Linked DNA regions of Homo sapiens: all the other regions are linked to region 5. The links are contacts of gene promoters, found by promoter capture Hi-C in blood cells and fetal thymus (Javierre and others, 2016). All regions are on one chromosome and are shown on one strand. Each heading gives the region's core, a stretch centred on a gene start or on the middle of the fragment in contact. The rest is flanking DNA. Distances are from core to core; before and after follow the strand shown. Region 1 has its middle 5.0 kb from the start of ZNF683. Region 2 overlaps ZNF683 (zinc finger protein 683). Region 3 overlaps EXTL1 (exostosin like glycosyltransferase 1). Region 4 has its middle 17 kb from the start of LIN28A. Region 5 holds the start of ZNF593 (zinc finger protein 593). Region 6 has its middle 2.5 kb from the start of CD52.

Region 1 (4,447 bases), core at 56-2,555, 210 kb after region 5:
GATCATCTGAAGCTTGATGGCCTCCTTTTGCTGGTATGCCAGGTTTCTGGGCTCTCTTTCCCTGAGCGGCCCTTCCTCCGGGCTGGCTGGCCAAAATATGTCACTGGTGGGGGGTGTCCAGGTTCTTGGCATCTTGAACAAAGAATTGGACAAAAAGCAGAAACAAAGCAACGAAGAAATGAAGGGATTTATTGAAAATAAAGTACACTCCACAGTGTTGGAGTGGGCCTGAGCATAGGGGCTGAAAGGCTAAATTGTGTTTTATACAAACATGGGAATATATTGATGCACATTGCTCTTCCGGGTTTTCTTTTCTTTTCTTTTCTTTTTTTTTTTTTTTGAGACAGAATCTGACTCTGCCTCCCAGGTTGGAGTACAGTGGTGTGATCTTGGCTCACTAGCAACCTCTGCCTCCTGGGTTCAAGCAATTCTCCTGTTCAAGCTGGGACTACAGGCATGCGCCACCAAGCCCAGTTAATTTTTTTGTATTTTTAGTAGAGACGGGGTTTCACCACATTGGCCAGGCTGGTCTCAAACTCCTGACCTCAAGTGATCCACCCACCTTGGCCTCCCAAAGTGCTGGATTACACTTTGGGAGCCACCATGCCCAGTCTCTTCTGGGTTTTCTAATAATCCATTGTGGGCATCATTTCATGCCCTGAACATACCTATCTGCCTCCTGCTTTTTCCTGACTATATAATGTTCCATTGCAGGGTTGTGCTTAATATGTAGCCTTCCCCTGTTGGTGGACATACGGGTGGGATCCAATTTTCCCCTTTCTACACAAGGCTGGAAAAGACCTCCAGACAGAGTCAGTATGCGGAATGGTTAAGAATACGAGCTCTGCTGGATTTAATCCCAACTGGGTAAACTTATGGCAAATCACTTAACCTCTCTGTGCATCTTTCCTCATCTGTCAAATGGAGATAATAATAGCACTTGCCTCATAGAATTATTTCCAGGTTTCCTCAAGATAATCCATGTAAAGCCCTTAGGATGGTGCCTGGCCCAAAGCAAGCACTTGACCAATGTGGATGACTATATTGTACATTACCCTTTACCTAGTTAGGCAAGCATCTGCAAGTCAGCTTCTTAAAAGTGTTAAAATTTTGATGGTTATTCCTGACCCATTTTGGAAGATCGAAATTTGGGCAGCACAATTGGAGAGATTAACTACATTTAGTTTTCTTGCTTTATTTATTGACCCTTCCCTGGTTGGGGATCATTGCTCTCATTCAATGCAGTCTTCTCCTACCCCATCCACACACCACAATAATAATAGCTCTTGGCATGGGAGCCCTCATTATATGCCAGGAACCATGCAAAGCCATTCCACACGCTTTGTCTCACTGGATCAGCAGAGTGACTCTGGGAGATGAATGCCATTATTCCCATTTTAGAGGCAAGAAAACTGACACTCAGATAAGGAAAATGACTCACTTAAGATCAGATGACCTGGCTGGGCGTGGCTCATGCCTGTAATCCCAGCACTTTGGGAGGCCGAGGCGGGTGGATCACCTGAGGTCAGGAGTTCAAGACCAGCCTGGCCAACATGGTGAAACTTTGTCTCTACTAAAAATACGAAAATTAGCCGGGCATGGTGGTGGGTGCCTGTAATCCCAGCTACTTGAGAGGTTGAGGCAGGAGAATCGCTTGAACCTAGGAGGCGGAGGTTGCAGTGAGCTGAGATCGTGCCATTGCACTCCAGCCTGGGAGACAAGAGCAAAACTCAGTCTCAAAAAAAAAAAACCAAAAAACACCACATGACCCCAAAGTGGAAAGCATAGAAACAGAGAGTAGAAAGGTCTTTACCAGGGGCAGGGGCCTGGGGTGTAAGGGAAATGGGAGATGAAGGTCAAAGGGTACAAAGTTGCAGTTACTTAGAATGAATAAGTCTAGAGCTGTAACATACAGCATGAGGATTATAGTTAGTAATATTATATAGTAGACATTTGCTAAAAGTAATTTTAGGTACTTTTACCGCACACACACACAAAAGGTAACTGTGAGGTGATGGATGTGTTAAATTGCTTGACTGTAGTAATCACTTTACTGAGCATATGTGTATCAAAACATCATGTTGTAGATCTTAAATATATACAATTTTAAAAGAAACACATGACCCAAGTTGAGGTTGTAAGTCCCAGAGGTGAGGGAGAGCTTAGGGAAGACTTTCCAGGCATTTGAAGAAGTAAAAAGTGCCACAAATATGTTTGGTAGAAGGGGCTCCCAGAAAAATTAAGACAAACAGAGGCCATCTTGAAACGAGCTGCAGAATTAGCATCTGGTACCCTGCAAGAACGTCATTCATTCACATATTTATTTGCCTTTTCTTTCTTCCTTCCTTTCTTTCTTTCTTTCTTTCTTTCTTTCTTTCTTTCTTTCTTTCTTTCTTTCTTTCTTTCTTGTTGTATTTTGGTAGAGACAGGGTCTGGCTGTGCTGACCAGGCTAGTCTCAAACTCCTGCCCTCAAACAGCCTCCCAAAGTAATTCACATATTTATTAATTACCAGCTATGTGTCAGGCATTGGACTATTTTCTGGGAATACAGCCCATAGAAATATGACTCAGACCTTGGAATTACATTCCGGCTATCAAGAAGCTTGCTGGATGTTGTGAAATGGAAAGTAATGTACATCTGAGCTTATTATTAGGAGGGTAGGGGCTGGAGGAGCAAAGTAGAACTGGGGGTGGGGTTGGCTGACTCATGCACCAAGAAAGGGAGACAACGGAACCACAGCCAGAAGCCCCACTTCCTCCCTGAAAACCTTAAAAACTTCTTCAACCCATATCCATTGCCACCTCCAACCTTGAGGCCAGCCAGCTGACTTCCCAGTCAGCTCAGCACATGGGTCCAGGACCTCTGTCACATGGACACTTTTGAGAGGCACCAGGTAAGGACCCCAGGTCAGGAAGGGATCTGGGACGTCACTGGCTTAGAGGTTAAGCAGCTGTAGGGTGTGCCTCCACAGGCAGAGCTGAGGGTGGGGCTGACAGTGCTCTTGCCTGGCTCTGCTCTGTGGTTGACACCTCCCTCCCTCTGCCTGACACCCACATGCTTATCTCCCCAGACAGCCCAGCTGTCAGTCTGTCAGATGCATTTGAGTTGGCCCTTGGCTTCACACCCCAAGGTGGGGAAGAGATCTTGAGTTAAGGCGTGCCTGCTCTTACATTTGCAGAAGGGGCCTACAGACACTCTTGCGTCTTCCCCTGCACCCATCTGTGACCTTCCAATCCTTCTGTGGGTAAAATTGCAGATGCATCTTCAAATGATATCCAAGGTCATGCCACTTATCCTCAACCATTCCAAGAGAATAGGAGACAAGAGGTCACCTTGCTTGGATTCAAATCCAGCAGAGCTAATGTAATCTGAGCCACTGTGCAAAACTGCCCACCATGTACATGTATGTCCTTTCCAGCCTGGTGTGGAACGGGGCAAAATTAAAGTCCACCTATATGTCTACCATTAGAGGAAAGCTACATATTATGTACATCCATGCATCAGAATACTATGCAGCCAGGAAAAAGCAGGAGGTAAATTTACTCAATGCCTCCTACATGCCAAATCTCTTTATGATCATCTTATTTAATCGTCCTCAAAATTCTCCAAGTTGGCCAGGCATGGCGGCTCACACCTGTAGTCCAAACAATTTGAGAGGCCAAGGTGGGAGGATAGCTTGAGCCCAGGAGTTTGAGACCAGCCCGGGCAACATAGCAAGACCCCCTTCCCTACAAAAAATAACTAGGCATGATGGCATGGGCCTGTAGTTCCAGCTACCTGGGAGGCTGAGGCAGGAGAATTGCTTGAGCCCTGGAGGTCAAGGCTGTAGTGAGCCATGATTGTGCCTGCCACTGCACTCCAGCCTGGGCAACAGAGTGAAACTTTATCTCAAAAAAAAAAAAAAAAAAAAAAAAAAACTCTCCAAGGTAGGAATTTTTAATGTCTCCATTTTATGGATGAGCAGACAAGACTCAGCAAGGGTATACCAGGTAGTATCAACTCAAATGCCTACAGTGGCCATGTAGTTAACATAAAGTGATCCAAGAATAAGTATGATAAAATTGTTTCCTGACACTCAGTCTTGGTTTCAAGCTTCCAACAGGGAAGGGTTGGGACTGAGGCAAACCAGAGAGCATGGTCCATTCTTAAAGATCAGCCACTACTCAGAATAATCAGGGGCCAGTGTTGCCAGTCTTCCAACTTTTCCAGAGAATCTGAAAATCAGGAGTTGTACATGAAATCTCCATATTTTTTAAAAGAATGGCTCCAATGTCTTTTTTTTTTTTTTTTTTTTTTTTTGAGACAGAGTCTTGCTCTGTCACCCAGGCTGGAGTGCAGTGGCATGATCTCCCTATTGGAGATCATGGAACTCTCACCCTGTACTGTCTAGTGGAGACAGGGTAGCTTCTTGATGGCCAGGGGTGGTGTCTTCACCTGGAACTGGC
Region 2 (4,046 bases), core at 1,506-4,005, 190 kb after region 5:
GGGAGGCCGAGGCGGGCGGATCACTTAAGATCAAGAGTTCGAGATCAGCCTGGTCAATATGGTGAAACCCTGTCTCTACTAAAAATACAAAAATTAGCTGGGCGTGGAGGCACGTGCTTGTAGTCCCAGCTACTCAGGAGGCTGAGGCAGGAGGATCACTTGAACCTGGGAGGCAGAGGTTGCAGTGAGCCGAGATCATGCCACTGCACCCCAGCCTGGGCAACAGAGTGAGACTCCCATCTCAAAAATGAAACAAAACAAAACAAAGCAAAACAAAAAAAGAGCACAAGGGACTGGGTCTGGTAGCTCAAACCCATAATCCCAGCACGATGGGAGGCCAAGCCAAATCAGTAGAGCTCAGGAGTTTGAGACCAGGCTGAGCAACATAGCCAAATTCCAACTCTACAAAAAATAAAAAGATTGGGTGGACATGTTGGCATGTTCCTAGCTACTTGGGAGGCTGAGGCAGGAGGAGTTTGAGGATGCAGTGTCCTATGATAGTGACACTGCATTCCAGCCTGGGTGACAGAGCAAGACCCTGATTCTATTAAAAAAAAATTTAAAAAAATCAAAAGAAAAGAGAGCCAGGTGCAGTGGCTCACACCTGTAATCCTGGCACTTTGGGAGGCTGAGGTGGGCAGACTGCTTGAGTCCAAGAGTTCGAGATCAGCCTGGGGAACATGGTGAAACCTTGTCTCTACAAAAAATCAGCCCGGCGTGGTGGCATGTGCCTGTAATCCCAGCTACTCAGAAGGCTGAGGTGGGAGGATCACCTGAGCCTGGGGAGGTCAAGGCTGCAGTGAGATGCGATAGTGCCACTGCACTCCATCCTGGGCAACAGAGCAAGATTCCATCTTAAAAAACAAATAAGTAAATACATAAAGGATATAAGAGCACAGGGAGCATTCCACATTAACATCCAAAATCGTGGTACATTGATACACATATTTTTATGCTTCAAGATACTCATACACACTTATTTGATCAACCACAACACTCTAACACACACACACACAACCCCTCAGACATCAGCTACCAGTGCACGGGCTCAGAGAGGTGAAGCAATCTGCTCAGGGTCATATAACCAGTGGCACCTACAGCTAGGAGCCGGGTCTTGCAGTCTGGCAGTCCCTGCAGGCAACAAAGCTTCAGAAATGTGGGCTCTGAAGTCAGACTGCCAAAGCCTGTGTCCCAGCTACACCACGCCCCAGCTGTGTGGCTTTGGGCAGGTGACGTCACCTCTCTGAACCTCCATTTCCTTATCTGAATCATGTGGAATACCTGCTTCATAGGGCTGCTGTGAGGATTACGTGAGATAATCCAGGTGAAGTATGAAGCATGTGGCAAATAAAGGCTTATTGTTATTACAATCTAGAGCTATCTCCAGGGGTGGGGACGACAGGGGAAAACCTCTCCGTGGCATCTAAGTGCAAATGCAGTACAGTCTCAGACGGAACCTGTCAGGTTCATGACAAAGGGATATGAAGAAATCAGCTGTGATGCGAGAATCAAAGTCCATAGGGGAGGGAAGAACTACTGCCTTTGCCCTTAAACTGTCTCTGTCGTCTGCAGGCTACCTGCCTGACTTAGGAAACTGTCCACATAAGTTGTAAAGTTTTAAAAGAGCACAGGGACCATTCCACATTCACATCCAAAATCGTGGTACATTCACACACACACACACACACACACGTGTGTGTGTGTGTATACATATATATTTTTTTCTTCTTCTTCTTCTTCTTTTTTTTGGAGACGGTGTCTCGCTCTGTCGCCAGGCTGGAGTGCGGTGGCTCGATCTCGGCTCACTGCAACCTCTGCCTCCCGGGCTCAAGCGGTTCTCCTGCCTCTGCCTCCGGAGTAGCTGGGACTACAGGAGTGCGCCACCACACCCAGCTAATTTTTGTATTTTTAGTAGAGGCGGGGTTTCACCATGTTGTTTGGCCAGGATGGTCTCAATCTCTTGACCTCGTGATCCGCCCGCCTCGGACTCCCAAGACACATATATTTTTATGCTTCGAGAGATACACATACACGCTTATTTGATCACTACTCTCTCTCTCTCTCTCTCTCTCTCTCTCACACACACACACACACACACACACACACACACACACGGTCTAGGGCCCAGAGGCTCCCCACGCGGCCTTTCTCCATCTCTCCTCACCTCTCCCGGGATGTGGCCTCCGAGATCTCTTTCCCTCTGTGCTCCCTCCGGACCCCTAACCCAGCCAAAAGGTGGGCCAGGCAGGCCCCCGGGCCTCCGCACCGCTCGGCCATGGCGAGTGAAAGACCCGGGGCTCCGGCCGTCGGAGCACCTGACCGCCGGGGCTACCCGCATCCGCTGCATTTGCGGAGAAATGCCTCCTCCGGCCCGCCCCCCTAGCAAACAGCGGCCCCACCCGCAGCCCATGCGGGCGGTGACCCGATCCAGATGCTGCCCGTGCCCTGGGGCACTCTCCAGGACCCCCAACCTCATTGTTCTCCTCGGACCGCAGACCCCAGACGTTCGGCAAGAGCCCTTGCCCCCACCCCGGGGGCGTGGTTCTCCGCCCGGTCCGCGCTACATCTTTAAGCCCCTGGAGGCGCCAGGGCCCCCCGCAGCCCCAGGTGAGCTAGCCCGAGAGCAAGACCTGCATGAGGCCGGACAGGGAAAGTGGCCTGGGGCGAACAGAGGCGGGGAGGCGGGGCTGAGCGAGCGAGGGGGATCCCCCAGGAGCAGGAGGAGCTGGGCAAGGGGGGCGGTTGCGGGGAGGGGTGGATGGTTCGGAATGGGCGTGGTCTTGCCGAATGGGAGGGTCTAACGCGAGTGGTTGGCGTCCCGCGCGGGGCCCAAAGTGTGACACGGGTGGGCTTGGAACCGGGACCTTAGCTACTGGTGGGGCTGAAGCCCACCCTGCCATTGTTCTGCCACGGTCAGTGGGGCTTGCTCCTCCCTATGGGAAGCACTTACGGCCGGGAGCGGGAATCCCGTCACCACCGCGGTGGGGAAGCCGCACGGAAATCCACGGGGTGCGGACGGTGCCATCTCCTGGAAGTTGGCCAGAGAACCCCACTCTGTCCGCAAATCGCTCTTATTTAATAACAACTATCATCGATTGTGATCCTAACCTGGGCCTCCTGCCTCCCAGGCAATACCCTTTTCCGCCTGGCGCGGCCTCTCTGACTCGAGTGGGGATGGGGAGCACCTTGTACATTTCAGAGGATCCTCCGGGCCTACAGGGAGAAGGGCCATCAGGCCTCAGCTCCCCAGGGTCTCTGCCAGTTCTTCTCTGCCTGTAGCCCTTATCTGGCTGCAGCCTCCACGCCTTCCCTGAGCCTGGCACCCTGTTAGCCCAGAGTGTTGTGGTAACTAGACCCGGTTGACAGAGGACATCATGCTTCTGGGTCGTGAGTGGACCCTGATATCTCGAGTCTCCTTCTTCAATAGACCCACAATGAGGGGCACCCTCCCCCTCCACCTCGCAACGACCATGCAGGGAGTACCGGCTGAGGTGCAAGTGGCCAATAGGAACGGTGAGACCCAGGCAGTGGGGGCAGCGGGACCCTCTGCACAGGTGTTGGGAACAGGACAATGTGCCCAGGCTGGACAGCACGGTCGGCACCCTGCAGCGCGCTGGAGGGCTGGACTGTCCGTCGGTGAATAGACGAGGAGAGCCTGGTCCTAGACGGGGAGTGGAACTCAAGCCTTGCTGAAGCAGATGGCTGCAGGCAAGCACCGCACACACAGGCAGCACAGGCTCTTCCTGGCTGAGTCCCCTGACCTGCTCCCGGGTGAAGTGTGAGGTCTGGCAAACACAGTGGCTTTCCCCCATTACCCCCACCCCACACCTAAACTGTTGAAGCTCAGGAAGCCTCAAAGCATGACAGAAGAAACATTTTTAATTGTTCTGGTCCTGCCCCATCACCAGGGGAGTCCCGGCACTGCTCAGGCTCACTGCTCTTGCTTTCCCCTGGGATGTCGAGGACACTTTGACCTCATCTATGTCATAGCCCATGTGTTTCTCAGATGCCACCGCCATAAGATCTAGTGCCCCCTGGTGCCATTG
Region 3 (4,102 bases), core at 1,387-3,886, 140 kb before region 5:
CTTTTTTTATGGCAGGAGAGACTGTGAAGGCCAAAGTGCCTAGTAGGGCACATGGAAGTCACAATGCAGCCCTACCTATGGCCAGGCCCCAGCAGAGCACTGAGGCCATGGGCACAGCCACGCTGACCACCCTTGGGCACTGAGGCCCTGAGTCTATGGCAGGTACCTTACATGGTCACAGAAGCCTAAGACTTCTTCAGTGGTCACCACATAGATGCACAAGTTTCCTCTGTAACACATTCCCTGTTCCCCGCCAAAGGTGCTCATCCAGTCTCTACTTATTTCCCTTTACTGATGGGGAACTCACCACCTCCAAAGACCACCCACTGGCTGCACGCTCAACCAGCTCCATCACTAGAATTTCTGCTGAAATTGACCTCCCAGATACCTGGTCTCTTGGTCCCAGATCTATTCCCTAGTGTCTCACTGAGCATTCGGCAGCACCCACTGAGCTCCCATTCTCCACCAAGCACTCTGCTAGGCCCTAGGGATACTGAGATGAGGGAGGTACAGCCCCATCCTCAAGGAGCTCAGCCTTGTAAGAGAGACAGGCAAGTCAATTGTTTGACACACATTGTTAAGCAGAGAGAGGCTGCACCGGCTGCCTCCCTGGCTCCTCTACTCAAGAGCTGTGTGACCTCTTTGGGCTTCAGTTTTCTCATCTGTAAAATGAGATAATAACAGTGCATACCTCCCCTCCTATCTCATAGAGGTGCTGTGAGAATGAACTGAGTTAATACCTGTAAAGCACTTAGAACAGTACCTGGATCAAAGTACATACTCAATATAGGTTAGCTTGGATCATTACTACTGCAGTCCACTGGGAGGTGGGAGTAGAGAAAGCCATCTCTGGAGAGATCAAGGAGGGTTTCCCAGAGGAGGTGATGTTTCAGCTTAGACATTAAGACAGCGTAGAAGAAGGCCAGGTGTGGTGGCTCATGTCTGTAATCTCAACACTTTGGGAGACTGAGGCAGGAGGATCACTTGAGGCCAGGAGTTTGAGACAGCCTGGGCAACACAGAGAGACCCCATCTCTAAAAAAAAAAAAAAAAAAAGCCAGCACGTGCCTGTAGTCCCAGCTACTCCAGAGGCTGAGGCAGGAGAATTGCTTGATCCTGGGAAGTTGAGGCTGCAGTGAGCTGTGATGGCACCACTGCACTCCAGGCTGGGTGACAGAGCAAGAGCTTGTCTCAGAAGAAAAAGATGAGTAGGAGGACTTCCTCAGGCTGACAAGGCAGGGAGGGGCCCTCCAACGTGAGGGAGAAGGGATCTTAAAGGCACAGAGGATCAAGGGAGGTTAAGGCTCAGTGGTGCAGTTGATTCAGCCTTAACCTAGAGGTTTTCAATTCATTAGAGGTTGACTTAAGGGTGAAGGGGGCTGTACCTGGTTGGCTTCTGCTGTGGCTTTTCATGAGGTGAAGGGTGTCCTGATGCTTACTTGTGGCTTCTTCCAAGGAGGGCCTGGTGGACACTTAAGCATGGAGGGAGGACAAAGAAGGCTGGGGTCCCCTGGAAGACCCCTAAAGCAGCAGCTCTGGGGTGGTTCAGATAACTCAGGGTCAGGAGCTGGCAAATCTCTGCTCTAGTCCCAGCTCCACTCAACCCTATCTGTGACCCTGAGCCAGTCCTTGGGTCTCTCTGGGCCTCAGTTTCCCCATCTGTTCAATGGGGCATGGCCCCGAGGCTGCCTAAGTACTCCCAGGTCTGCTTCTTGGAGGTTCAGGCTCAGAGCCAAACAGGCTGTAACTGAGGAGGGTCCTAGTACCCTCTGGGCCCTAGTCATGAGTCCCACACTGAGCAGGCCTGTGTCCTGGTCCCTCCCTTTATCCCTCCCCTGGCTGGGTTGCAGGCAATGGTCCCCTGGGTGGACAATTGCCAGGCTGGCTCTGAGGAGGCTGGGACTCCTGCCCTCCCCCACAGGCACACACAGCCTGAGTGTGGCCCTGGGCTAGGGTGGTGGAGGGGGTAGGTGGGAGGAACAGAGGGAGCCTGTCCTCTGGGCCAGGGGACCTCTGGGCAGCAGTTTCCTGTGTGGTTCCAGGCTGGGGGCCCAGCCCACCTCATGACAGAGGAGCCTTTCACGGGCCTGGCTTTTAGCATCGGGGAGGGCTGGGCTCAGAGGCCACGCAGGCAAGGGGTGCTGAAAGTCTGCCTGTGGCCGAGTGGGGGAGGGCAGACGTGCATGTCTAAGTCAGGCAGGGCCTCGGAAACATCAGCGTCCGCTGCCTCCCATTTTACAGATGAGGAAACTGAGGCCAGAGAAAGGCAAGGGAGGTGTCTAAGGCCACTGAGGGCAGAGGCAGAGCTAGAATGCAGGGCTCCTGCCTCCTAGTCCAACCACAGATGCGTGGCTGGTGTGATGCTTGTGTTTGTGTTAGTGCGTCAGTGTGCGGCTGTGCATATGCATGAGTGGGTTTACACATTTGGGAGTGTGGGTGTGGGGTGCAGGGGTGTGGGGTTCTCCCATTGAGGGAGCCCAGGGGGCGAAGGTCACTGTCCAGGCTCATGTGTGGTGGGACCTCCCCATGTGCCTCTTTAGGACCCAGCGCCAGGAGACGCTGCCCAATGCCACCTTCTGCCTCATCTCTGGCCACCGTCCCGAGGCTGCCTCGCGCTTCCTCCAAGCCCTGCAGGTACAACCCCAATTTGAGCATCACCCATCCTCTGTCCCCCAGCACTCATGAGCTGGCAGGGTACTCTGGGTCCAGGCCAATGAGAAGGGGCAGTAAGCTGCCTGCTCCTTTACTCCTGGACTCAGGCATGCCTGTGTCCCCATTCACTGCACCCTCTGCAGAACAACCATAACCTCCCCTCCCTGAAAAATCCCATGTTCCTGTCCTCTTTGCCCCTTGCCCCCAACAGCAGCAGCTACTGACTTGGAACTGGGCGGGGGGTGAGTATGTGCAGGGTGGGGCTGGGCTCCCCAGTGACCTCCCCGCCCCCCAGGCCGGCTGCATCCCAGTGCTTCTCAGCCCCCGCTGGGAGCTGCCCTTCTCCGAGGTCATCGACTGGACCAAGGCAGCCATCGTAGCTGATGAGAGGCTCCCACTTCAGGTAGCTCAGAGCCCTGCCCACAGGGTGGGAACTGGACCCAGGACAGGGGAGGGACCTAGAATCCTGGATCGAGGCTGGCCTCAGTCCTCATTCCTATCTGCCTTCTATGGATACTGGTGAATTTCTCCTAGCACCAAGTCTCCCCTCTGGGGCTCCCAGAGGATCTGATGGAGCTAGAGATTCCTAAGGGTTCTGAGAGCAAGTCCTGATCCTCTTCCAGCCTCAGTTTTATCATCTCTACAATAGGATGAGCTAGACCAGACAATCCCCATGGGCCCAGCTCCAATGGCCTGTGACTGCTTAAATACCAATTTAGGGGAAGGCTACAAAAAAATTCAAACTCAGAGCGCCTCCATGGGGACTGGAGTGGGAAAGCAAAACGCATGGCGACTTTTCCATCTGATGAAACTAATTTTGTCCAGCTCTGAAAAATATATGTGTGACCTGCCTTGAATCCCCTGAGAATGGCAGAGGGGGTTAATAGTAATTACCATTTTTTTAATTGAGCCTCTACAATGTACTAAGCAATTAATGAGCAAATACTCAGGTTAAATAGCTCAACCACAGTCACGTGGTTACCAAGTGGCATTCAGACCCAACTCTGTGTGACCCCTGAATGCTTCTTTTTTTTTTTTTTTTTTTTGAGATAGGATCTTGCTCTGTTGCTCAGGCTGGAGTGCAGTGGCACGAATATGGCTCACTGCAGCGTCGACCTCCTGGGCTCAAAATTGCTCTATTACCTGGCACTTTTCTCCCTCTCTGCTCCAGGTCCTGGCTGCCCTCCAGGAGATGTCCCCTGCACGGGTCCTCGCCCTGCGTCAGCAGACCCAGTTTCTATGGGATGCCTACTTCTCCTCAGTGGAGAAGGTCATCCATACCACTCTGGAGGTGAGGGGTCTCACCTGATGGGGGTCCTGGCTCTTGACTCCTGCTTCATCCCTGTCACCTCTCCATACTTCTCTGCCACAGTGTTTGGGGAACCCCCCCCCCTTCCTTGAAGATGGTCCTGGGATGAATCTGAGACTTGGCTGTGAGATTTGGGGCAAGT
Region 4 (4,444 bases), core at 1,874-4,373, 220 kb after region 5:
GGATGAGGAAAGGGGTCATGTGGGGTAAGGGTGTCCCCTGCTGGACATTGAGAGTACCCAGGGCATCCTCTCTGAGCTGGGAAGAATGACTCTCGGTCATAAATTTCCTCCCTGAGGGGCAGAGTTGGGGAACCTCACCTTATGCCCAGACTGCTGATGCATGCCTTCTTCTTACCTCTATCAGCCCCCACACCACTGTCCTCCCAGCCTTCAGAGCATCCGTCCCCACCCCCAGTGGCCTGACCCACCCTCCCCCACGCTGCAGACCACATCAGCAAGGCTGTGGAGCGCCACAGCGATTTCTGCATCCTCTCCACAATGAATATCCACCCCCTCTTAAACCTTTTGCTTTGAATAAGAATAGGCCCAGAGTCCTCCATCGATCCTCTTTCCCCCTCCTCCCAAATCAATCAATCAGTAGTGATTGGCTGGGACACTGGGGTGGAGGTGGACGAGGACTGGTGGGTGAAGAGCAAGGAAAGTTGGTGGGGTGGTGGTGGGGTAGGTGAGTGTGTTTCTGAAACAGGATCCCGCTAAAAGTATGGCAGAACAGTGGATTTCTCTGGAGGAGAATAGTTGGTGAGAAGATACCTGGGATGAGGTATTTAGAAAAAGGTGAATGAGAAATTCCTGACTACTGTCTTTTTTTTTTTTTTTTTTTGAGATGTAGTCTTGCTCTTGTTGCCAAGGCTAGAGTGCAATGGGGCAATCTTGGCTCACTGCCACCTCCACCTCCCGGGCTCAAGTGATTCTCCTGCCTCAGTCTCCCAAATAGCTGGGATTACAGGTGCCTGCCACCAAGCCTGGCAAATTTTTTGTATTTTTAGTAGAGATGGGGTTTCACCATGGTAGCCAGACTGGTCTCGAACTCCTGACCTCTGGTGATCCACCTGCCTCCGCCTCCCAAAGTGCTGGAATTATAGGAGTGAGCCACCGCACCCGGCCTCTGACTACTGTCTTGGCTGACAAAAGGGTAAAATACCTCCAGTTTATATAAAGTGTGAGCACAATGGGAGGAGGGGGTTCATAAAAGATTGGACTAAGAGGAACATGGTGAGGAGCACGGGGGTTCTGTGAGGGGAGTCAGGGCTCAGTGCTAAGGACATGGAGGAGTAGAGAGGGCAGGAGGAAGCCTCTTGGCCGAGGGTAAAAAGAAGTGGGTGGGGGTCAAAGAGAGATAGAGGTCACTTCTCTTCCAGTGAGGATGGGAAGAACCAGACCACACCTGTGACTCTCCATATAGTTCCCATCCCTGGCCCCTCCCCCAGCCATGCCCCAAAATGGGGCTGGGGAAGAGTGACAGTTACTTAATGACTCTGAGTCCCACTAGCTCTTCTGGGCAGCCTATGGTCACTGGGGGGCCAAAGGGGACTGAAGCCAAAGTCCAAGTTATTGATCTCTGGCCCCAAAGGTCAGCTTCAGGGGCAGAGGGAGTGGTGTTGCCATGGTGGGAGACTCGAGGGACCCCACAACAGAGGGGCTGTGCTGCAGCCCAGTTTTCACGTCTGCATCCTTAGTGCCCCATGATCCTATACACACACACACACACACACACTCCCACACCCCTCTATCCTGTCTTGCTTGAAATTTCTGCCTGATGGGATGTCTCAGAATAGACTCTTGGGTGTCTAGCCTTTGGGGTGTCTAGGGAGTATAAAAGGAGAGCCTTAGATGGAATTATTTATTTACTACTACCCCCGTCCCCAAGACAAAGCCCTGGGAGTCCATGAACTCTTTGGTGAATCCCATTAAAAAAAACACCAATCTGGTTGTCAGGAAGAAAGGATGGCAACAATTTTTGCTGTGTAGCCTTGACAAAGCATTTACCTTCTATGAGTCTTAGTTCCCTTATCTATAAATGAAGGGATTGAATCAGATGAGCTCTAAGTTCCTTTCCGGATAAGTGACCTAAGATTCTGAGGAATTAGAGGGGACAGGCCTGACAGCAGGGGTTAGGAGTAAGAACTAGGTTAGGTTCGGGAGATGGTAAAAACAAATTCTTGGACTTGGAAATAAAATCTGCATTCTAATTTTGGCCATTATTAACTGTGGAAACTGGGGCAAGTCATGCATTTATTAATTCAACAAACATTTAATAAGCAATTACGTTATCCCAAGCTTTGTGCTGCATACTGACACAATGAACAAAACATAGTCCCTGGCTTATGGGGTTTACATTGTAGTGGTCAGTGGGAAAGAAAGACAAATAAGCAAATATATATAATACAGTGGGACAAATGCTCTGTCACAGATGTGTAGAGCACTATAAAAAATGGGAAAGGGGGCCAGGGGCTGGGACTCACACCTGTAATCCCAGCAATTTTGGGAGGCCGAGGCGGGGGGGGATCACCTGAGGTCAGGAGTTCGAGACCAGCCTGACCAACATGGTGAAACCTCATGTCTACTAAAAATACAAAAATTAGCCAGTCATGGTGGCAGGCGCCTGTAATCCCAGCTACTTGGGAGACTGAGGCAGGAGAATTGCTTGAATCCAGGAGGCAGAGTTTGCAGTGAGCTGGTATCACACCACCACACTCCAGCCTGGGCAACAGAGCTAGACTCCATCTCAAAAAAAACTGAAAAAAAAAAAAAAAAATGGGGAAGGGACTGGGAGCCATGGCTCACACCTATAATCCCAGTGCTTTGGGAGGGAGGAGGATTGGTTGAGGCCAGCAGTTCAAGGCCAACCTGGGCAACATAAGGAGACCTCATCTTTATAAAAATATGTTTTTAATTAAAAAAACAGAGAATAGGGCCAGGCACAGTGGCTCATGCCTGTAATCCCAGCACTTTGGGAGGCCGAGGCAGGCGGATCACAACATCAAGAGTTTGAGACCAGCCTGGCAAACATGGTGAAACCCCATCTCTACTAAAAATACAAAAATTAGCCAGGTGTGGTGGCACATGCCTGTAATCCCAGCTACTTGGGTGGCTGAGGTGGGAGGATTGCTTGAACCCAGGAGGCAGATGCTGCAGTGAGCTGTGATCGCGCCACTGCCCACCAGCCCAGGAGACAGAGCAAGACTCCGTCTCAAAAATAAAAATAAAAGAGAATTAATAGTGATCAGCAAAGTGAAAGTAAGGGAAATGGTGCTTCAGGCAGAGGGGTAATCATGGAGAAACCCTAAGGAGAAAGAGAATCAAGCTATTGGAGGCCCTAGAGCGTGCATTGTGACAGAAGTGAGAAGGGGAAGGACAAGGAGTACAGTTGGCAGTAAGACTGGTACTGGGGGCAGAGATCTGCCTCCTCTGCAAAAATGCGATAACAATGTGCCCACCTAATCTCCCTCTTTTTCTGGCCGCCTTGTTTTCCAGGGTCTAGTGATATAATGAATGGGAAAATACTTTGTGGTCTGAAAAGCACTGTACAAAGTAGTACACAGACACTAGAAAAGAGCTGTGGATCACTGAGGATCAAGCTGGGTAAATCTGGCTTTGGGCTAACTTCCAGAAAAACAGTGGAAAATTAACCAAGATTGAGACATTGAGCCTTTAAAAACCTTAGGTCACAAAACTAGAGAAGATGAGGACTGGAGTTTGAACATAAAACATGACCCCAGAGTCTTTGCAAAAGAGGAAGGGGACTTGTTCTAAGGACCCCAGTGGATAGAAGCTATAGAGACTAGGTTGAATTCAATGGAAGAAATAACTTCTTATTTTTATTTATTTATTTTTTGAGGTGGAGTCTCGCTCTGTTGCCCAGGCTGGAGGGCAGTGGCACGATCTTGGCTCACTGCAACCTCCGCCTCCCAGGTTCAAGCAATTCTCCTTCCTCGGCCTCCCCAGTAGCTGGGATTACAGGCATGAGCCACCACGTTTGGCTAATTTTATTTTTATTTTTATTTATTTTTATTTTTATTTATTTATTTATTTATTTATTTATTTATTTGTATTTTTAGTAGAGATGGGGTTTCACCATGTTGCCCAGGCTGGTCTCGAATTCCTGACCTCAGGCGATCCTCCTGCCACGGCCTCTCAAAGTGCTGGGATTACAGGTGTGAACCACTGCACACAGGCAGAAGAAAGAACTTTCTAACAATCCCAACTATCTGTGGATGGGCAAGGCATTCACAGCAGTAAGTTCCCTGTTGCTGGAAGTTTGCAAGCTGATCTGGACAATGGCTGGTGTCAAGCTTGGAGTATGGGAGAGGGTCAGCTGATCTGCAAGGTCTATTTGACTTTGAGAGTCTTGGAATCAAGGATCTTGGAATGTCCATTCCCTTTGTTCCATTCCCTCTCCTTTAATAGAACAGGAGTGGAGGCTCTTTTCAGAACCTCACGATGCTGCTTGCATTCAGGAGAGGCTGGAACGGAAAATGGACAGCTCCATGCATCTGTCTTTCTGTCATCCTTCCTCGATGGCTGAACCACAGGGACCCAGTGATAAGGAGAGGGAAGGGACAGACTCCTATCATTTGGAGGCCTTGAGTCCGGCATGGCTTCT
Region 5 (4,286 bases), core at 1,787-4,286:
ACAAAACCTCTCCACCCAACCACAGATACCAAAACACATACACCATACAAACAACACCTGCAAATGTCTACACAGAGGCATGCAGGCAGACTGCTACCCAAAATGTTCACACCTTCACATACACTTTCACTGGGGATTCCACCCAGATACTGATCACACCAGTTACCCACTGACATTTCTGCACAAGCCCAGCCTTAGACACCAACCTCTCCAGACATTTAAGAATTCAAACCATTCCCCGCCCCTCTGAACCGATTCCTGCCTCTGCCACATTTTGTGTGATTGTGTGACTGCCACTTATCACAGCCTCCAGACATAAGACTGTCCCTGGTTTCAGAAACTTTGCTGTTGTTGTTTTGAGACAAAGTCTCACCTGTCACACAGGCTGTAGTGCAGTGGAGCCTCGACCTCCCTGGGCTCAAGCAATCCACCCGCCTCAGCCTGAGTAGCTGGGACTACAGGTGTGTGCCACCATGCCTGTCTAATTTTGTATTTTTTTGTTGAGATAGGGTTTCACCATGTCACCCAGGCTGGTCTCGAAATCCTGGGCTCAAGTGATCCTCCTGCCTCAGCCCCCTGAGTAGATGGGATTATAGGTGCCCACCACCATGCCCAGCTAATTTTTGTATTTTTAGTAGAGGCAGGGTTTCGCCATGTTAGCCAGGCTGGTCTCGAACTCCTAACCTCAGGTGATCCACCCTCCGTGGCCTTCCAAAGTGCTAGTATTACAGGCAGAAGCCACTGCGCCTGGCCTGTTTGTTTGTTTTTGAGATGGAGTCTTGCTCTGTCGCCCAGGCTGGAGTGCAATGGCTCAATCTCAGCTCATTGCAACCTCTGCCTCCCAGGCTCAAGCAATTCTCCTACCTCAGCCTCCCAAGTGGCTGGGATTACAGGTGCACGCCGCCATGCCTGGCTACTTTTTTTTGTATTTTAATAGAGACTGGGTTTCACCGTGTTGCCCAGGCTGGTCTTGAACTCCTGAGCTCAGGCAATCCACCCACCTCGGCCTCCCAAAGTGCTAGGATTACAGGCATGAGCCACCGTGCCCGGCCCAGCCTGTTTTTTGTTGTTGTTGTTTGTTTGCTTGTTTTTTGTAATGTCAGAACAAAGCATGGTCTAAGTATGGCTTTGATCTGATGCTGCTGCAGTGACCTTTCTAGTACAGGCGCCACTCCCCCTACCTCTAGTAACATGGGGCTCACTACATCACTCCTACTTCTGCTCCCATTAGAAAGTTGTGTCCAGCTAAGTGTGCCCGTGTGCCTACTGCCCACTGGTCCTAGAAGAATCTCTTCCATGTGGCAGCCTCGAGATCTTTGGAGACAGTGGCCACTCCTCCCATGGTCCCTAAGTCTTTTCTTCCTCAGTTTTCTTGAATGTCCTGGCTTTCTGATGCTGCACCATGGTTTTTACCATCCCTGAATGTGGCATCTGCACAAATGTGGCCCCCCCACCTCCAAGCCTATCCTGTGCCCCACTTCATACTGCTCATTCCTGCTGCCCCTCTGCACATGCTCCACCCACCATGCATGGATGGCACCCACCTCCTCTGCCAGGTCTTCTTCAGATTCCCCACTCAGGGTCTGTAGCACTTTGGACTTGTAGGTTTTCCAGAAGGCCTGGTTCATGGCTGCAGGGGGAAGGGGCCTGGCACGCAAGCACAGGAAGGTGGTGGCTCAGTGGATACCAGTGAGTCTGGCTCTAGGAACTTGGTGAGGCCAAGAGCCTGTCCGAGGGATCCAGTGACTTCATTAAAGATGCACCAGCCTCCCCAGCTGGCACAGTGCCCAGGAGGTGAACCTGATCCAAAGGAGTCGGGGAGTGGGGGATGGAACAAGCTTCTGCCACCTTAGCCCCTTGTCTTGACCCATATTGGCCAAGAATAATGAAGTCATTTGTCTCTAGAGAGGCTTTCTTCCTGGGCCTAGGAGTACTTGAGTTGTTCATCTCTTAGCATGCCTCCAGGAAAATCTTCTTCCATTCACAAAATCCTGAGGTCTGGGACCCACACTGGAGCCCCTGTGACTGTAGTCATACTAGTTGTGTCCTCAGCAGGGCTCCACCCTGTGTCCCTACTTAGCCTCAATGAACTGGAGCAGGAAGGTCCGCAGGCCCCCAGTGGGCACCTTGGGCTTACATTTCACTCCTTTGTCTGGGCTGGAAACTGATTCCTCTCCCCAGGGATACACGTGCCTGTCTCCTTGTTTCCTGGCAACAGACTCCAAAGAGCTGGAGCCCCTGAATTATTGCTAAGCTCCTCTGGCCCCTTCCAGCTGAGTTGGCTCTGGCCAGCCTGGGAGGCACCAGGCTCCTGTGAATGGGGAAAGGCCCTCTAGCCACTCTGAGCATGCAACACCTAGGCCTTTGCTGCCAGCCCACCTCTGGGAGCCCAGGGCTTAGAGAAAGGAGGCAAAGATGGAGAGGTCCTTCTATGAGTACTTGTGAGAGGAACTGATCCCTCTGGAGTCTGGATGCCTGAGGACTGCACTCTCTGGGGAGGAACACCCTTCACGGATTTGGTTGGGGTCAGAGAGAGGATGGAGACTCAAGGGAATAACGGGAGCCCGGAGAAGTGAGGGCTTTTTCAGGGACTGGAGATTATCTCGGGAAGCCCTGGTGGGGCTGGGATTCCAAACTTATTCACTCTCAGTCATTTACTAATTTATTCATGACACAGACATTTATCAGTGCTTTCCAGAGATAAAGCATCCCACCCCCACCGCGGAGTCCAAGGTCTGGGAAACAGGAAGGGATGACAGGAGTACAGGTTGGCACTGATACTGGTTGGACCAGGCCAGGAAGAGCAGGGCAGCAAGACGGCCCCGAAACCCCCAGGCGCACGCACCACCCCGCGCCTCCCCAGCGAGGGCCCGCGGGGCCATGCCCTTCAGTGGGCACACTTCTGGGAGCCCGTCCTGAGCTCGGTCACTGACGTCGACGGCCGCCTGGCGGCGCTCGAGCCGCTGGCCGAGAGTGACGTCATCAGAGGCGGTCCGGCCGAGCCTGCCTAGCCCCCCGGCGTGGCCTGACGTAGCTGATCGGCCCGGAAGTGCTCACACGTGTGCTCCCTGCCCTGCTCCTGGCCCCTTGGCCGGCCGGGCTGTTTCTGGCCATGGGTCGCTCCCGCCGGACAGGCGCGCACCGAGCGCACTCTCTAGCCCGGCAGATGAAGGCGAAGCGGCGGCGGCCGGACTTGGATGAGATTCACCGCGAGCTGCGGCCTCAGGGATCCGCACGACCCCAGCCCGACCCAAACGCCGAGTTCGACCCCGACCTGCCAGGGGGCGGTCTGCACCGCTGTCTGGCCTGCGCGTGAGTCCCGGACGAGCCCGGCCTGGGGCGGAGGAGGGTCCGCGGTACCGGCCGGGAGATGTGAAGTTGAAGCCCCAGGCAGCGCAGAGTCTTCTCTCTTGGGACCCGTGGGTCCGCCCGCCTCCCGTTTCTCAGACCCGGATCCTGGCGTCAGGGACAAGCTAGGGCTAGGGAGATAGGTGCACTTGGGAGACTATCACCTCCTCACTCTCCTTCTCACTTCCATTCCTACAGGAGGTACTTCATCGATTCCACCAACCTGAAGACCCACTTCCGATCCAAAGACCACAAGAAAAGGTATGAAGGAGTAAGGAGAGGATTGATGGATGGGTGCTCAGCAGATAGGGCTCTCACCTGGTCAGCTCCCAACTCCTGTTTTTCTTTCTCCCAGGCTGAAGCAGCTGAGCGTCGAGCCCTACAGTCAGGAAGAGGCGGAGAGGGCAGCGGGTATGGGATCCTATGTGCCCCCCAGGCGGCTGGCAGTGCCCACGGAAGTGTCCACTGAGGTCCCTGAGATGGATACCTCTACCTGACATGGCCTGAAGATGCAGGGCAGAGGAATTGCCCATGGACAGTGACGCAAGGACTAGGCTGGGAGGGAGCGTGCCAACCCCTTTTGCCTCTGGGTTTGGGGAGCGGAGGGCCTCTTCTTGGTGCCCTGCCCCAAATAAAGGAACTGGACAAAGAGAACTTGCCTCCAACTCTAACTTCCAGGCCGCTGTCTCAAACTCCTGCCCTGGAAGGGCTTCTCTACTACTTTCTGTACACCAGGCCTAGGGTGTCTACTCCCCACTTGGTCTATCTCTGCCTTCCCTCTGAGGTCCTAGCATCTGAACTGGAGCACCCAGATGGAGGCCTGATGCAGTGTGGGGTGGCGGGAGTGGGATCAGATTACTCTGTCCTGCTTCTGACAGAGACTGATCCCCAGAAAAGAAGGCTTCTGAGATTGCACCCCCCTCCCGAGTCACCTACCC
Region 6 (4,412 bases), core at 1,777-4,276, 150 kb after region 5:
GAACTGGGATGGAATTGTGATCTAAGGTGCTTTGCATGCCTGGTCTTCTCTTGTTCTGCAGGTCTCAGCACACACATTTCCTCTGAGTGGTCTTTCCTGACCACTGACCTAGAATATATCCTCCCCACATTTCACTTCTTCTTCTTCTCACATTACCCCCTTGATTTCCTGATGCCATTTGTGAACATCTGAAATTACCATTGTTTTTTATTAGTCTTCCCCCACTCAAATATCAGCTCCATAATAGCAGGGACCATGTCTTTATGTCACTGTTGTATTCCCAGTGCCTAGTTCAGTACCTGGTACACAGCAGGCACCCAATAAACACATTCTGCTCTAATAATACTTTCTTACGATCTTTACTTCACTTCACTAATTTTCTCTTCAGTTGTGCCCAATCTGATGTTAAACCTATCCACTGAGTTCCTAATTTTTATTACCATATTTCTCAGTTCTAGAATTTCCATTTGGTTCTTTACTATAATTTTTTTTCTTTTTTTTTTTTTTTTGAGACTTAGTCTTGCTCCATCGCCCAGGCTGGAGTGCAGTGGCACGATCTCGGCTCACCACAAGCTCTGCCTTCCAGGTTCATGCCATTCTCCTACCTCAGCCTCCCGAGTAGCTGGGACTACAGGTGCCCGCCACCATGCCTGGCTAAGTTTTTGTATTTTTAGTAGAGATGGGGTTTCACTTTGTTAGCCAGGATGGTCTCGATCTCCTGACCTTGTGATCGACTCGCCTCGGCCTCTCAAAGTTCTGGGATTACAGGTGTTAGCCACCGCGCCCGGCCGGTTCTTTACTATAATTTCTAGTTCTCAATCTTGTCCTGCTGCTCAGAGGGCAGAAGAGGAAAATGTCTTTAAGTAAGCATAGTTATTTGAAAATTTGATTGATTATTCCATTATCTGGATCTTTTGTATAACTTTCTATTATCTGTTTCTGCTTTTTGGTCATGTTGTCTTCAATTTCTTTGAGGGTTGGGCTGTTGTTTCCTGTTTACTCTCACTCCCCGTGGTCCAACCCAAAGCCTAGGTGGGGGGAGTTTGTCAGGGCTCCCCTTTCTTAGAGAATCTAGAACTATAGTTTTTCTCCCATACATTTGTAAGTATGTGAAGATGAGAAAGCTCAGCTCAGTTTCTCAGCTGTCCCCTCTGCAAGTGGCATACTTTTAGGAGGAAAGCAGCTCCATATAAAGGGCTTGCTTCTCTCAGTCCCTTATTTCTTTTCTGCATTGGTAACTTTTCAGTACTGACTTTACTGTTGCCCCATAGTAAATATTTACTGGATGAATAAATGCAGGACTACTAGGCTCGGAGGTGGGAATAGATCTAGATGAATACACGCACTCATTCTTCCGGCAGTCCCTGACACCTACACTGTGCCATGTTCTGTGCTTCGCTGAGTAAGAGAAGTGACAAAATCTAGTCCCAACCCACAAGGGACAGACCATATTCTTGGTAGACACAATCTTTAGAACAGAGGTCAACAGAAAGGGCCCTTCGAACATTTAGGAACTTTGAGTTTCCTAGGGAAAGTGGAAAGTTTCCCTGGGGAAGGGGCTTCTAAGCTAAATCTTGAAGAATAAAGAAGAGTTTGCAGTCTGGGCAACATAGCAAAACTCCACCCTCCACCACCCCAAAAATTAGCTGGGCATGGTGGCATGCACCTGTAGTCCCAGGTACTTAGGAGGATGAGGCGGGAGGATTGCTTGAGCCCAGGAGTTCGAGGTTACAGTGAGCTATGATTGCACCACTTGTACTCCAGCCTGGGTGACAACGGCAAGAACCTGACTCGAGGGGAAAAAAAAAGAGTTTGCCAGGTAAAATAATTGGAGAAGGGCTTTCCTTGCAGAGGAAATACATGGACTGTAGAAGATACTCCTCAGGGTGTCAGGAGGTGAAAATGAAGCTTCTGAGGTTTGCAAGAAAATGTTTACAAATAAGAGTCTGGCATTTAGTATCCTCGCATGCATCTCCAGCATGGGAAACTATAACACGGCTGGCCCCAGGCTCGTCCTGTCTGGCTGCCTCTTTGTAAGAGGGGAGAAGATTGCACAGTGTGATGGAGCTCATTTTCAGCAGAGTAATCTCAGACTTCAACACGGGTATCCTGTCTTCTGGGCTGGTGCCCTTCTGGCACAGGACACCTCCCTGACTCTCATGAACCCCAGAATCACTCACCCCCACAGGCACACCAAAGACAGCTGAGAACTTGAGTCAAGGGTGAGGAGAGACCTCTGGGTGAAAGGGCAGGGATGGGGAAAGAGGGTGATGGATGGCTGGGGACTCCTCCCTCTTCTCTCCCTCCCCGCCCCTCCCTCTCCACTTCCTGGCTTTCTCTCATCAGCTTTGACTCTCAGTTCTTCTTTTCTTCTCTTCTCTTTTTTTGAAATGGAGTTTTTCTCTTGTCGCTCAGGCTGGAGTGCAATGGCACGATCTCGGCTCACTGCAACCTCCTTCTCCCGGGTTCAAGTGATTCTCCTGCCTCAGCCTCCCGAGTAGCTGGGATTACAGGCATGTGCCAGCACACCTGGCTAATTTCTGTATTTTCAGTAGAGACAGGGTTTCACCATGTTGGCCAGGCTGGTCTAGAACTCCTGACCTCAGGTGATCCACCCACCTCGGCCTCCCAAAATGCTGGGATTACAGGCGTGAGCCACTGTTTCCTGGCCTTTTTTTTTTTTTTTTTGAGACAGGGTCTTGCTCTGTCACCCTGGCTGGAGTGCAGTGCCACAATCATGGCTCATTGCAGCCTGGGCCTCCCAGGTGCAAGCAATCCTCCTGCGTCAGCCCCCAAGTAGCTGAGACTATAGGTTTGTGCCACTATGCCCGGCTAATTTTTTTTTTTTTTTTTTTTTTTTTTGAGAGATGGGGCCTTCCTATGTTGCCCGGGTGGTCTCAAACTCCTGTGCTCAAGTTATCTGCCCGCCTCAGCCTCCCAAACTGCTAGGATTACAGGCGTAGCCCCTATGCCCAGCCTCTGTTTTTTTCTTTGGACTCAGCCTCAGCCAGATCTCCCCTGGGCTTGCAACACAAGGCCCAAAACAATAGAAGAGAAGTGAGGGGAGTTTTCCCTTTACTACCTAGCATGTAAATGAGGCCTAAAGTAGACTAAGGAAGGGAGAGTGTGAAGGGAGAGTGGGCCAGAGCTGGGGTTGTGGTGACCAACTCCTGGGGCCTGGGGGGAGTTTGTGTAGGGGAGGGGGAGGGAGTGGCAGGGAATCAAGACTTAATGGATGAATTCTAGGGCAGCCCCAGAGGTTACATACATGGCTGTGGCTTCAGACAGACCTGGATTCAAGGTCAAATGAGACTGGCTCCACCATTTACGACCTTAGCAAGTCACTTAACATCTAAGCCTCAGTTTTTTCACCAGTCAAATGGGGATAAACATAACACCTGCTGCAGGGCACCACAGAGGGTATCAAGTGAGGGAATGCATAAAGCATGGAGCACTATCCAGGCAGCTGTGGGATTCCTCTCATCCCCCCACCCCTCCCTGGGCCCTCACAGCCACTCTCTCACCCCAGTCCCCTTCCACTGTAGCTTAGTCACCCACTTGTCCCTTCCCTCGCTCCCCTCCCATTCATCCTCAGCTAATACAAACAACCCATCTGCTTGCTACTTTCTCTACCAAAATCACAAAATTCTAGGTCTTGGCTGGGCGCGGTGGCTCATGCCTGTAATCCCAGCACTTTGGGAGGCCGAGGCAGGCGGATCACTTGAGATCAGGCATTCGAGACTAGCCTAGCCAACATGGTGAAACCCAGTCTCCGCTAAAAAAAAAAAAAAAATACAAAAAATTAGCCAGGCATGGTGGCACACACCTGTAGTCCCAGCTATGCGGGAGGCCAAGGCAGGATAATTGCTTGAACCCAGGAGGTGGAGGTTGCAGTAAGCCGAGATCATGCCAGTGCACAGAGCAAAACTCTGTTTAAAAAAAAAAACAAAAAAACCAACAACAACAAAACAAAACACTAGGTTTTAACAAACTTCAGAAATAATCTATTTCAGTCTTCCCAGTTCCTTGAAATGAGGAACTGAGGCCTAGAGAGGGAAAGCCCAACTGAAACCAGGCTTCCCGATTCCTCACCTCCAGCACCTTCACAGAAATCCACCAACCCTTCCACAATCTAAACATTTCCCAAGCTTTCATTCAGAACCTGCAGCCCATCTACAACCTTCCCTTGAAACATAAATCTATCCCAGCCCTTCTCCTTCAGCTCCTATACCCTGCCCCAATCTTCTTTAAACAACAAACTCATTTACGGAATATCTGCTATGTTCTGGCTCTTTTTAAATTGGTTATTATTACATGTAATCCGGCAGTTCTTTTGTTAAAGGGTCAGAGAGGTAGAGTTTCTGGCCCAGGGTCTCAGAGCTGGTCAGTGATTAAACCAGGATTCAGCCTGC

What was found. The method cuts DNA at HindIII sites, captures the fragments that hold promoters and counts their contacts. A CHiCAGO score of 5 or more calls a contact.
Region 1: a contact is called between a fragment that was not itself captured here and the fragment with the promoter of ZNF593 in region 5, in 7 of 17 cell types (M0 macrophages, M2 macrophages, M1 macrophages and 4 more). The highest score is 13.9, in M0 macrophages.
Region 2: a fragment that was not itself captured here is called in contact with the fragment with the promoter of ZNF593 in region 5 in 10 of 17 cell types (M0 macrophages, M2 macrophages, monocytes and 7 more); the score reaches 14.9 in M0 macrophages.
Region 3: a contact is called between a fragment that was not itself captured here and the fragment with the promoter of ZNF593 in region 5, in 1 of 17 cell types (erythroblasts). The highest score is 6.0, in erythroblasts.
Region 4: a fragment that was not itself captured here is called in contact with the fragment with the promoter of ZNF593 in region 5 in 8 of 17 cell types (M2 macrophages, M0 macrophages, M1 macrophages and 5 more); the score reaches 18.2 in M2 macrophages.
Region 6: a contact is called between a fragment that was not itself captured here and the fragment with the promoter of ZNF593 in region 5, in 2 of 17 cell types (endothelial precursors and monocytes). The highest score is 7.2, in endothelial precursors.

Annotation. Positions count from the first base shown.
Region 1 is chr1:26,375,556-26,380,002 of GRCh38, forward strand. No RefSeq gene overlaps it. Among named protein-coding and RNA genes, the nearest start is that of ZNF683, 5.0 kb to the left of the region's middle. RefSeq lists a cis regulatory region at 2,483-3,376 and an enhancer at 2,699-2,908. The HindIII fragment of the contact is 2,591 bases long and covers 11-2,601 here.
Region 2 is chr1:26,357,773-26,361,818 of GRCh38, forward strand. ZNF683 (zinc finger protein 683) reads right to left here. Exons shown (of 6, transcript NM_001114759.3): 6 at 3,862-4,046. The coding sequence ends at 3,879. Among named protein-coding and RNA genes, the nearest start is that of CRYBG2, 5.7 kb to the left of the region's middle. RefSeq lists a silencer at 986-1,280 and an enhancer at 3,899-4,046. The HindIII fragment of the contact is 3,222 bases long and covers 1,145-4,046 here.
Region 3 is chr1:26,026,654-26,030,755 of GRCh38, forward strand. EXTL1 (exostosin like glycosyltransferase 1) reads left to right here. Exons shown (of 11, transcript NM_004455.3): 2 at 2,540-2,633; 3 at 2,947-3,054; 4 at 3,823-3,942. Among named protein-coding and RNA genes, the nearest start is that of EXTL1, 6.9 kb to the left of the region's middle. RefSeq lists an enhancer at 2,393-3,258. The HindIII fragment of the contact is 8,483 bases long and covers 1-4,102 here.
Region 4 is chr1:26,391,632-26,396,075 of GRCh38, forward strand. No RefSeq gene overlaps it. Among named protein-coding and RNA genes, the nearest start is that of LIN28A, 17 kb to the right of the region's middle. The HindIII fragment of the contact is 2,015 bases long and covers 2,117-4,131 here.
Region 5 is chr1:26,166,872-26,171,157 of GRCh38, forward strand. ZNF593 (zinc finger protein 593) reads left to right here and starts at 3,037. Exons shown (of 3, transcript NM_015871.5): 1 at 3,037-3,312; 2 at 3,547-3,609; 3 at 3,704-4,002. The coding sequence starts at 3,113. The coding sequence ends at 3,845. It overlaps C1orf232 (chromosome 1 open reading frame 230), which reads right to left and starts at 2,092. Exons shown (of 4, transcript NM_001364669.2): 1 at 1,545-2,092. The coding sequence starts at 1,628. It overlaps ZNF593OS (ZNF593 opposite strand), which reads right to left. Exons shown (of 4, transcript NM_001395468.1): 3 at 4,285-4,286; 4 at 2,650-3,727. RefSeq lists a silencer at 1,418-1,573 and an enhancer at 2,807-2,906. The HindIII fragment of the contact is 4,459 bases long and covers 1,837-4,286 here.
Region 6 is chr1:26,313,290-26,317,701 of GRCh38, forward strand. It overlaps a transcript of UBXN11 not described here. Among named protein-coding and RNA genes, the nearest start is that of CD52, 2.5 kb to the right of the region's middle. The HindIII fragment of the contact is 2,240 bases long and covers 1,907-4,146 here.